Linked DNA regions of Homo sapiens: all the other regions are linked to region 1. Evidence: promoter capture Hi-C in 16 types of primary human blood cells and fetal thymus (Javierre and others, 2016). All regions are on one chromosome and are shown on one strand. The core of a region is centred on a gene start or on the middle of the fragment in contact, and the rest is flanking DNA. Distances in the headings are between cores, read along the strand shown.

What was found. Contacts are between HindIII fragments. The CHiCAGO score rates a contact against its expected background, and 5 or more counts as called.
Region 2: a contact is called between the fragment with the promoter of PALM3 here and the fragment with the promoter of NANOS3 in region 1, in 17 of 17 cell types (total CD8 T cells, naive CD4 T cells, activated CD4 T cells and 14 more). The highest score is 14.6, in total CD8 T cells.
Region 3: a contact is called between the fragment with the promoter of RLN3 here and the fragment with the promoter of NANOS3 in region 1, in 16 of 17 cell types (total CD8 T cells, naive CD4 T cells, M0 macrophages and 13 more). The highest score is 16.0, in total CD8 T cells.

What each region holds. Positions count from the first base shown.
Region 1 is chr19:13,875,861-13,878,390 of GRCh38, forward strand. NANOS3 (nanos C2HC-type zinc finger 3) reads left to right here and starts at 1,274. Exons shown (of 2, transcript NM_001098622.3): 1 at 1,274-1,905. The coding sequence starts at 1,389. The HindIII fragment of the contact is 10,444 bases long and covers 1-2,530 here.
Region 2 is chr19:14,060,806-14,063,335 of GRCh38, forward strand. It overlaps PALM3 (paralemmin 3), which reads right to left and starts at 1,271. Exons shown (of 7, transcript NM_001145028.2): 1 at 1,135-1,271. The coding sequence starts at 1,175. RefSeq lists an enhancer at 1,212-1,766. The HindIII fragment of the contact is 17,434 bases long and covers 1-2,530 here.
Region 3 is chr19:14,026,888-14,029,417 of GRCh38, forward strand. RLN3 (relaxin 3) reads left to right here and starts at 1,261. Exons shown (of 2, transcript NM_080864.4): 1 at 1,261-1,507. The coding sequence starts at 1,318. RefSeq lists an enhancer at 2,038-2,087. The HindIII fragment of the contact is 35,410 bases long and covers 1-2,530 here.

The sequences.
Region 1 (2,530 bases), core at 24-2,523:
ATGAGCTGTGTAAGCGGCACAGCGTCTCTCCTCTGTGTCCAAGTCCTGAGCACACCCTCCCCTCCTGGGACTGAGCTGAGATCTCATCTCGGGGAGGACACTGAAGACCTGTAGGTACTAGGGGTCCCCTCCTAACAGCCCAACTTGCTATCCCCCACCTCCCAACTCCAGAGGGTTCTTTCTCACCCCTCTGCAGCCCCCGCCAGGAAAGGGCTCCCTCCCCAGCACCTAGCCTCAGGGGGCCCCAGTAACTAGAAGAAGGAGGCAGATGTGGTGCTTTTTGTTGTTGTTGTTTTGAGACAGAGTCTTACTCTGTTTCCCAGGCTGGAGTGCAGTGGCTTGATCTTGGCTCACCGCAACCTCTGCCTCCTGGGTTCAAGCAATTCTTCTGCCTCAGCCTCCTGAGTAGCTGGGATCACAGGCACCCGCCACCATGCCCAGCTAATTTTGTGTGTGTGTGTGTGTGTGTGTGTATTTTTAGTAGAGACAGGGTTTCACCATGTTAGCCAGGCTGGTCTCGAACTCTTGACCTCAGGTGATCCGCCTGTCTTGGCCTCCCAAACTGTTGGGATGACAGGCATGAGCCACCACTCCCTGGCCTGGTGCATGTCTTTATAAATAACTGGATGGGCAGGTGGCTTCACACCTCAGTTTGCTCATCCATTCAATGGGGGTTCCACTAAGACAACCGATGTGAAAACTCTTGGAGGGAGACCAGAGCTGGGGGCCGGGGGGCATGATCCTTCCCCCCTACCCCCGCAACCAGCCCATGAGCCTGGGACTACCACACTCCTTTCAGAGACAGCTGGAGCATCAGCAACCTCCCGCCTGGACACACACACACACAAAGAACCCAGGGGCACCTGGCCACTCCCCCGCCCAGGGGAAGGAAGAAAAAGTTATAAAGAAGTTACTAAGTTAACTTCTTTAAGTTACTGGTAACTGCTAGTCTTTGGGGGTGGGGTTTCCAACCCATTCTCCCCATCCTCCAGTGGGGCTGGAGGGCTAAGGACTCCTACAAGGAGGGGAGGCAGGGTAGCCCCCCAATTCCCTGGAGGTGTGTACGGGGGGCTGTGGTGCACCTCGCAGGATGCCCCCCCACACACCCTGTGTCCTGTAGTCCCCCGGCACAGCCAGAGGCCATACAGCCCTTTAGGAGGAGTATTAGTGGGGCACCAGGCCCCCCTGTGACAATAAGGAACCTCCCACAGCCTGCTCCTCCCTCTTCACACCCCCTTGGAGGTAAAAGGAGGGTCGGCCAGCACAGACTCCCAGGCTCCAGAGAGGGGAAGGAAGGGGCAGCAGAGAGGGGTCAGAAGGAGGGAGCTTAAGCCAGGCAGGGTTACTTGTCTCTGTGACTCCTTCCGCCTGGCACATGCTGCCCAGCTATGGGGACCTTTGACCTGTGGACAGATTACCTGGGTTTGGCACACCTGGTTAGGGCTCTGAGTGGGAAAGAGGGTCCTGAAACCAGGCTGAGCCCCCAGCCAGAGCCAGAGCCAATGCTGGAGCCGGTGTCAGCCCTGGAGCCGATGCCAGCGCCGGAGTCGGTGCCAGTGCCGGGACCCAAGGATCAGAAGCGCAGCCTGGAGTCCTCGCCAGCTCCCGAACGCCTGTGCTCTTTCTGCAAACACAACGGCGAGTCCCGGGCCATCTACCAGTCCCACGTGCTGAAGGACGAGGCTGGCAGGGTGCTGTGTCCCATCCTGCGGGACTACGTGTGTCCCCAGTGCGGCGCCACACGTGAGCGCGCCCACACCCGACGCTTCTGCCCACTTACTGGCCAGGGCTACACCTCCGTCTACAGCCACACCACCCGAAACTCGGCAGGCAAGAAGCTGGTCCGGCCTGACAAGGCGAAGACACAGGACACAGGCCACCGCCGAGGAGGAGGAGGAGGAGCAGGTGCCTGCACAGGTGGCTGGGGGGGACCTGTCCGAGGGTAGTGGCTGAGCCCCCCTGTGAAGTAAGATTAGCCCCAGTACCCACCTCCAAGGGTTAGGGGAAGACCTTAGAGAGAGCTTAGAACAGCAGTTGATTTTATTTACGTATTTATTTATTTATCTTGAGACAGGTCTCTTTCTGTTGCTCAGGCTGGAGTGCAGTGGCGCCATCTCGGCTCACTGCAACCTCCACCTCCTGGATTCAAGCGATTCTCCTGCCCCAGCTTCCTGGGTAGCTGGGATTATAGGCGCGCGCCACCACACCCGGCTAATTGCCACCATGCCCGGCTAAATTTTGTATTTTTAGTAGAGATGGGGTTTCACCATGTTGGCCAGGCTGGTCTCAAAACTCCTGATCTCGTGATCCGCCCACCTCGGCCTCCCAAACTGCTGAGATTACAGGCGTGAGCACCGCACCGAGCCAGTTTGTTTATGTATTTATTTATTTATCTTGAGACAGAGTCTCTTTCTGTCACCCAGGCTGGAGTGCAGTGGCATGATCTTGGCTCACTGCAACCTCTGCCTTCCGGGTTCAAGCGATTCTTCTGCCTCAGCCTCCTGAGAAGCTGAGATTACAGGCGCCTGCC
Region 2 (2,530 bases), core at 21-2,520, 180 kb after region 1:
GCTGGAGTGCAATGGCTCAATCTCAGCTCACTGCAACCCCCGCTTCCTGGGTTCAAGTGATTCTCCTGCCTCAGCCTCCTGAGTAGCTGAGATTACAGGCGTGCACCACCAAGCCCGGCTAATTTTTGTATTTTTAGTACAGATGGGGTTTCACCATACTGGCCAGGCTGGTCTCGAACTCCTGACCTCAGGTGATCTGCCCGCCTCGGCCTCCCAAAGTGCTGGGATTACAGGCGTGAGCCACCGTGCCCGGCCACGAAGTCATGCTTTGCAAGATATCCCAAAGGAAGCCCAGATTCTGTGCTTATAGGTTTGCCCCTGGGGGAGGGCTGAAGTCCCGTGGTCTCCTGTACCACCCCCAAGATGTAATCTCCCTGCCTCTTCCTTGCTGGGGGGGATCGGGTTCCCATTGCTAAGCAACCAGGTTTGTAGTTGGTGAATAATGCAATGGAGGACCTAGAAGGGTGAGGAACCGAATTGGGGTCCCTAGTGTGGGGGGAAGCCCCTTTTCCAAAACTCTTTCCAAACCTCTGAAGCCCCCTCTACCCTTTTAACCTTAAAAAACTCTCACCCCTCAGCTATGAAAAGACTTCACACACCCCATTCCATCTTGCTTATCTCTAACTAACTCTGGAAGAACAACGTAGGCGGCCTGGGCTTCTGGCCACCCGCAAGAGTTGGTGGCCATTTCATGAAGGAGGTCATCCTTGCAATGTTGCCATTGTCTTTCTCAGGCTGGGAGCTTTTAACTTCTGTTGGATCTCAAGCCTTTTCTCCCACCTTGGACACTGACTTTAGGGGCAAAACGTGGAACCCAGTGACCCTGACCTTCCCCACTCCCTGCACCACAGCAGTAGCCCCACCCCCTGGCTGGACTTTGGGTTCTCAGCCCTGGCAGCGGAAAATCCCCGAAGAGGAAGGGGCAGGGGGAGCCTATATCTCTCTCCCACCCCTTGACTCTTTAAGGAAGGGTGACACTGATGAGCCTATGGGGTTGGCTAGCCAACCCCTCCACTCCCCGGGTCCCCTTAGGAGAGACCACTGGAGCTCTCGGCTCCCAGACAAGGCCAGCATCCCCCATGAGCCCCTCCCAAGGCCCTGCCCACCAGCCCCCCTGACCCCCCAGACACTTACATGGGTGTGGCCAGAGACCACACCTGGCTCTGCAGGGCCATCTCTGCCCAGAAGTTCACTTTCTGGTCTCCGAGTTCTGGACCCACCACCCGCTTGCCTGAAGGTGCCCCGGAGGCTGTGACTTGGCTGCCTGGAGTGGGGGGGGGCTGCGGGCGGGCACCGGGAGAGCAGGTCCAGCGGGTTTGGGCCAGGGAGGCGGTAGGCACACCAGAGAGGGGGGCTGGGGGCTGGAGGGCAGTTCTGGGGAGGTACTATCAGCTGTCCTGATAAATTATTCACCAGCCTCTGGCCTCTTTGTTGCACTCAGCTGCCTCCCGGAAAACACTTTCACACACGCGTGGTCAAGCGTGGGGGTGAGAGTACTGAGTCGGTGACTCCCCCTGCCACCAGAGAATGGCATTTCTACTTGGCACCCCAATCATCTTGAGTCTGACTGCCTGCCAAGACTCACCCACAGGAGAGCACCATTGCATAGCACACAGGCTGGAGACTGTTTTATTTTTTTAGAGATGGGGGTCTCACTCTGTTGCCCAGGCTAAAATGTAGTAGTGCGATCATAGCTCACTGCAGTTTCAGACTCCGGGGCGCAAACAATCCTCCCTCCTCGGCTTCTCAAAGTGCTGGGATTACAGGCATGAGCCACCACATCTGGCAGATAACATTTTTTAAAATTATTTTTTAAGAACAGGCACAGTGGTGCATATGTGTAATCCTAGCACTTTGGGAGGCCCAGGTGGGTGGATCACCTGAGGGCGGAGTTCGAGACTGGTCTGACCAACATGGTGAAACCCCGTCTCTGCTAAATACAAAAAAAAACTTAGCCGGGCATGGTGGTGCATGCCTGTAACCTCCGCTACTTGGGAGGCTGAGGCAGAAGAATCACTTGAACCCAGGTGGCAGAGGTTGCAGTTAGCCAAGATCGCACCATTGCACTCCAGCCTGGGCAACAAGAGCAAAACTCTGTCTAAAAAAAAAAAAATTACTTTTTGAGCCAGGCACGGTGGCTCACGCCTGTAATCCCAGCACTTTGGGAGGCCGAGGTGGGCGGATCACGAGGTCAGGAGTTTGAGACCAGCCTGGCCAACATGGAGAAAGCCTGCCTCTGCTAAAGATACACATTAGCCAGGTGTGGTGGCACACCTGTAGTCCTAGCTACTCGGGAGGTTGAGGCAGGAGAATTGCTTGTACCCAGGAGGCGGAGATTGCAGGGAGCTGAGATCATGCCACTGCACTCCAGCCTGGGTGACGGAGCAAGACTCCGTCTGAAAAAAAAAAATTACTTTTTGATCGTGGTAAAATACACATAACAAAATTTACCATTAGTGGCATTTAGTATGTTCACAATATTATGCAATCCTCACCACTGGTTCAGAATATTTTCATCAACCCAAAAGGA
Region 3 (2,530 bases), core at 11-2,510, 150 kb after region 1:
GCCAGACCCTGTCTCTGAAAAAAAGAAAAAAAAAAAAGTCTGGTTTCTGAACCAGCAGGATCAATGTCACCTGGGAACTGGTTGGAAATGCAGATTCTTAGATATGTTCCATACCTGTTGAGTCAGGAGCTCTGCAGGTAGGACACAAAGATATGTGTTTTGTTTGTTTGTTTTTGAGACAGAGTCTCACTCTGTTGCCCAGGCTGAAGTGCAGTGGCGCCATCTCAGCTCACTGCAACCTCCACCTCCCAGGTTCAAGCAATTCTCCTGCCTCAGCCTCCCAAGGAGCTGGGGCTACAGACATGAGCCACCACACCCGGCTAATTTTTTGTATTTTTAGTAGAGGCGGGGTTTCACCATGTTGGCCAGGCTGGTCTCGAACTCCGGACCTCAGGTAATCCTCCTGCCATGGCCTCCCAAAGTGCTGGGATTACAGGCGTGAGCCACCGCGCCTGGCCTGATTTCTGTTTTAACAAGCCTACCCAAAGATTCTGAAGCTCACTCACATTTGAGAACCATTACCCTGGGTTGTTGGGAGAATCAAATACATTACAGAGATATAAAATGCTTTGAGCAGCTGAGGGCTGTGGCTCATATCTGTAATCCCAGCACTTTGGGAGGCTGAGACAGGCGGATCACCTGAGGCCAGGAGTTCGAGACCAGCCTGGCCAACGTGGTAAAACCCCGTCTCTACTGAAAATACAAAAATTAGCCAGGTGTGGTGGTGGGCGCCTGTAATCCCAACTACTTGGGAGGCTGAGGCGGGAGAATTTCTTGAATCTGGGAGGCGGAGGTTGCAGTGAGCCAAGATTGTGCCATTGGGACTGTACCTCTAGCCTGGGTGACAGAGCGAGACTCCATCTAAACAAACAAACAAACAAATAAACAATAAAATGCTTACAGTAGTGTGCCTGGCCTCGTAGCACATACTGCACTGGGCGTTCACTGCTATTATGATCTTCGAAGAGGTCCAGGACCCTAACGTTGTGGGGATCTGGTTGTGTCACCTTACCCCGCCTTTTGGGATTATGCGTTTCTGGTCTCTGCAGGTTGGAGACCTTCTCGCCTCTCTGTCAATGATGTTGACAATAAGCTGGGCCACATCACCCTGTCCCTAGCGAAAGGTTATCACTTCGCTGGGGACATGAGAAAGGTCGGGTTGGGGGGGCCGTGCCTGTCTCCCCTCTGCTGGAGAAGATAAGGGAGGCACTCAGCTTTCTTCAGGCAGAGTGTGGGGGAGCCACGATGTATAAATGGGGGGCCAAGAGGCAGCAGAGACACTGGCCCACTCTCACGTTCAAAGCATCTCCGTCCAGCATGGCCAGGTACATGCTGCTGCTGCTCCTGGCGGTATGGGTGCTGACCGGGGAGCTGTGGCCGGGAGCTGAGGCCCGGGCAGCGCCTTACGGGGTCAGGCTTTGCGGCCGAGAATTCATCCGAGCAGTCATCTTCACCTGCGGGGGCTCCCGGTGGAGACGATCAGACATCCTGGCCCACGAGGCTATGGGTGAGGCTGGGGAGAGAGTGGATGTAGAAGGGGAACAGGTGGCTGGATGGGTCCCAGGAGCTAAGGACAGAGATAAGAGGAGGTTGCTGGAGGAGGAGGGTCCCTGTCCTGCCACATTCAGCCAGGGACACCTGCCCAGCCTTGAAACAAGGGCTCAGGAGTTAGCAGAGCTGCAGAGCTGGGATGGGGTGTTGCAAGCCATCCATGGGGGCTGGAAGTCTGAGGACAGGTGGGGGCGGGGAGCGTGCCATTTGCAAAGACAACACCGAAGTGTTTTCCAACCCTTTCCAGCAGGTAATGTGAAGGGTGTGGTATACACATAGCTGGGTTTGTCACCTAATGCATGACCTCTCCCCAGCAAGTTGGTTTTTCTTCCGTCTCTGAGTGTCTTTTTTTTGGAGATGTGGTCTCACTCCATTGCCCAGGCTTGAATGCAGTGGCCCAATCACTGCTCATTGCAGCCTCGACCTCCCAGGCTCAAGTGATTCTCCTGCCTCCGCCTCCAGAGTAGTTGAGACCACAGGCACCTGACACCATGCCTGGCTAGTTTTAAATTTTTTTTTTGTAGAAACAGGGGTCTCACTATGTTGCCTAGGCTGGTCTCGAACTCCTGGGCTCAAGTGATCCTCCCACCTCGGCCTCCCTAAGTGCTGAGATTAGAGTCTCTGAGTGTCTTTATCTTCAAATGGGAGACACAGTTCCTGAATCTTGCAGGATTAAGTGGTATGATTAAATCAAAACAGATTAGGGCAGAGTCTCAGCAGGGCAGCGGCACAATCTGGGATCCATCAGGAGAGTCAGAGGGAACAGAAGACCTAGCTTCATGAGGGGCAGGGACCTGGCAAATAGATATTCATGATGGTGAGAAGGAGGATAGGTATGAGCGTGGACATAGAAGACACACCACTTGGATTCAGATAGTAGCTCTACAATGTAATAGTTGTGTGTTCATGTGCTACTATTTTTTTTTTTTTTGAGACAGAATCTCATTCTGTTGCCCAGGCTGGAGTGCAGTGGTGCAAT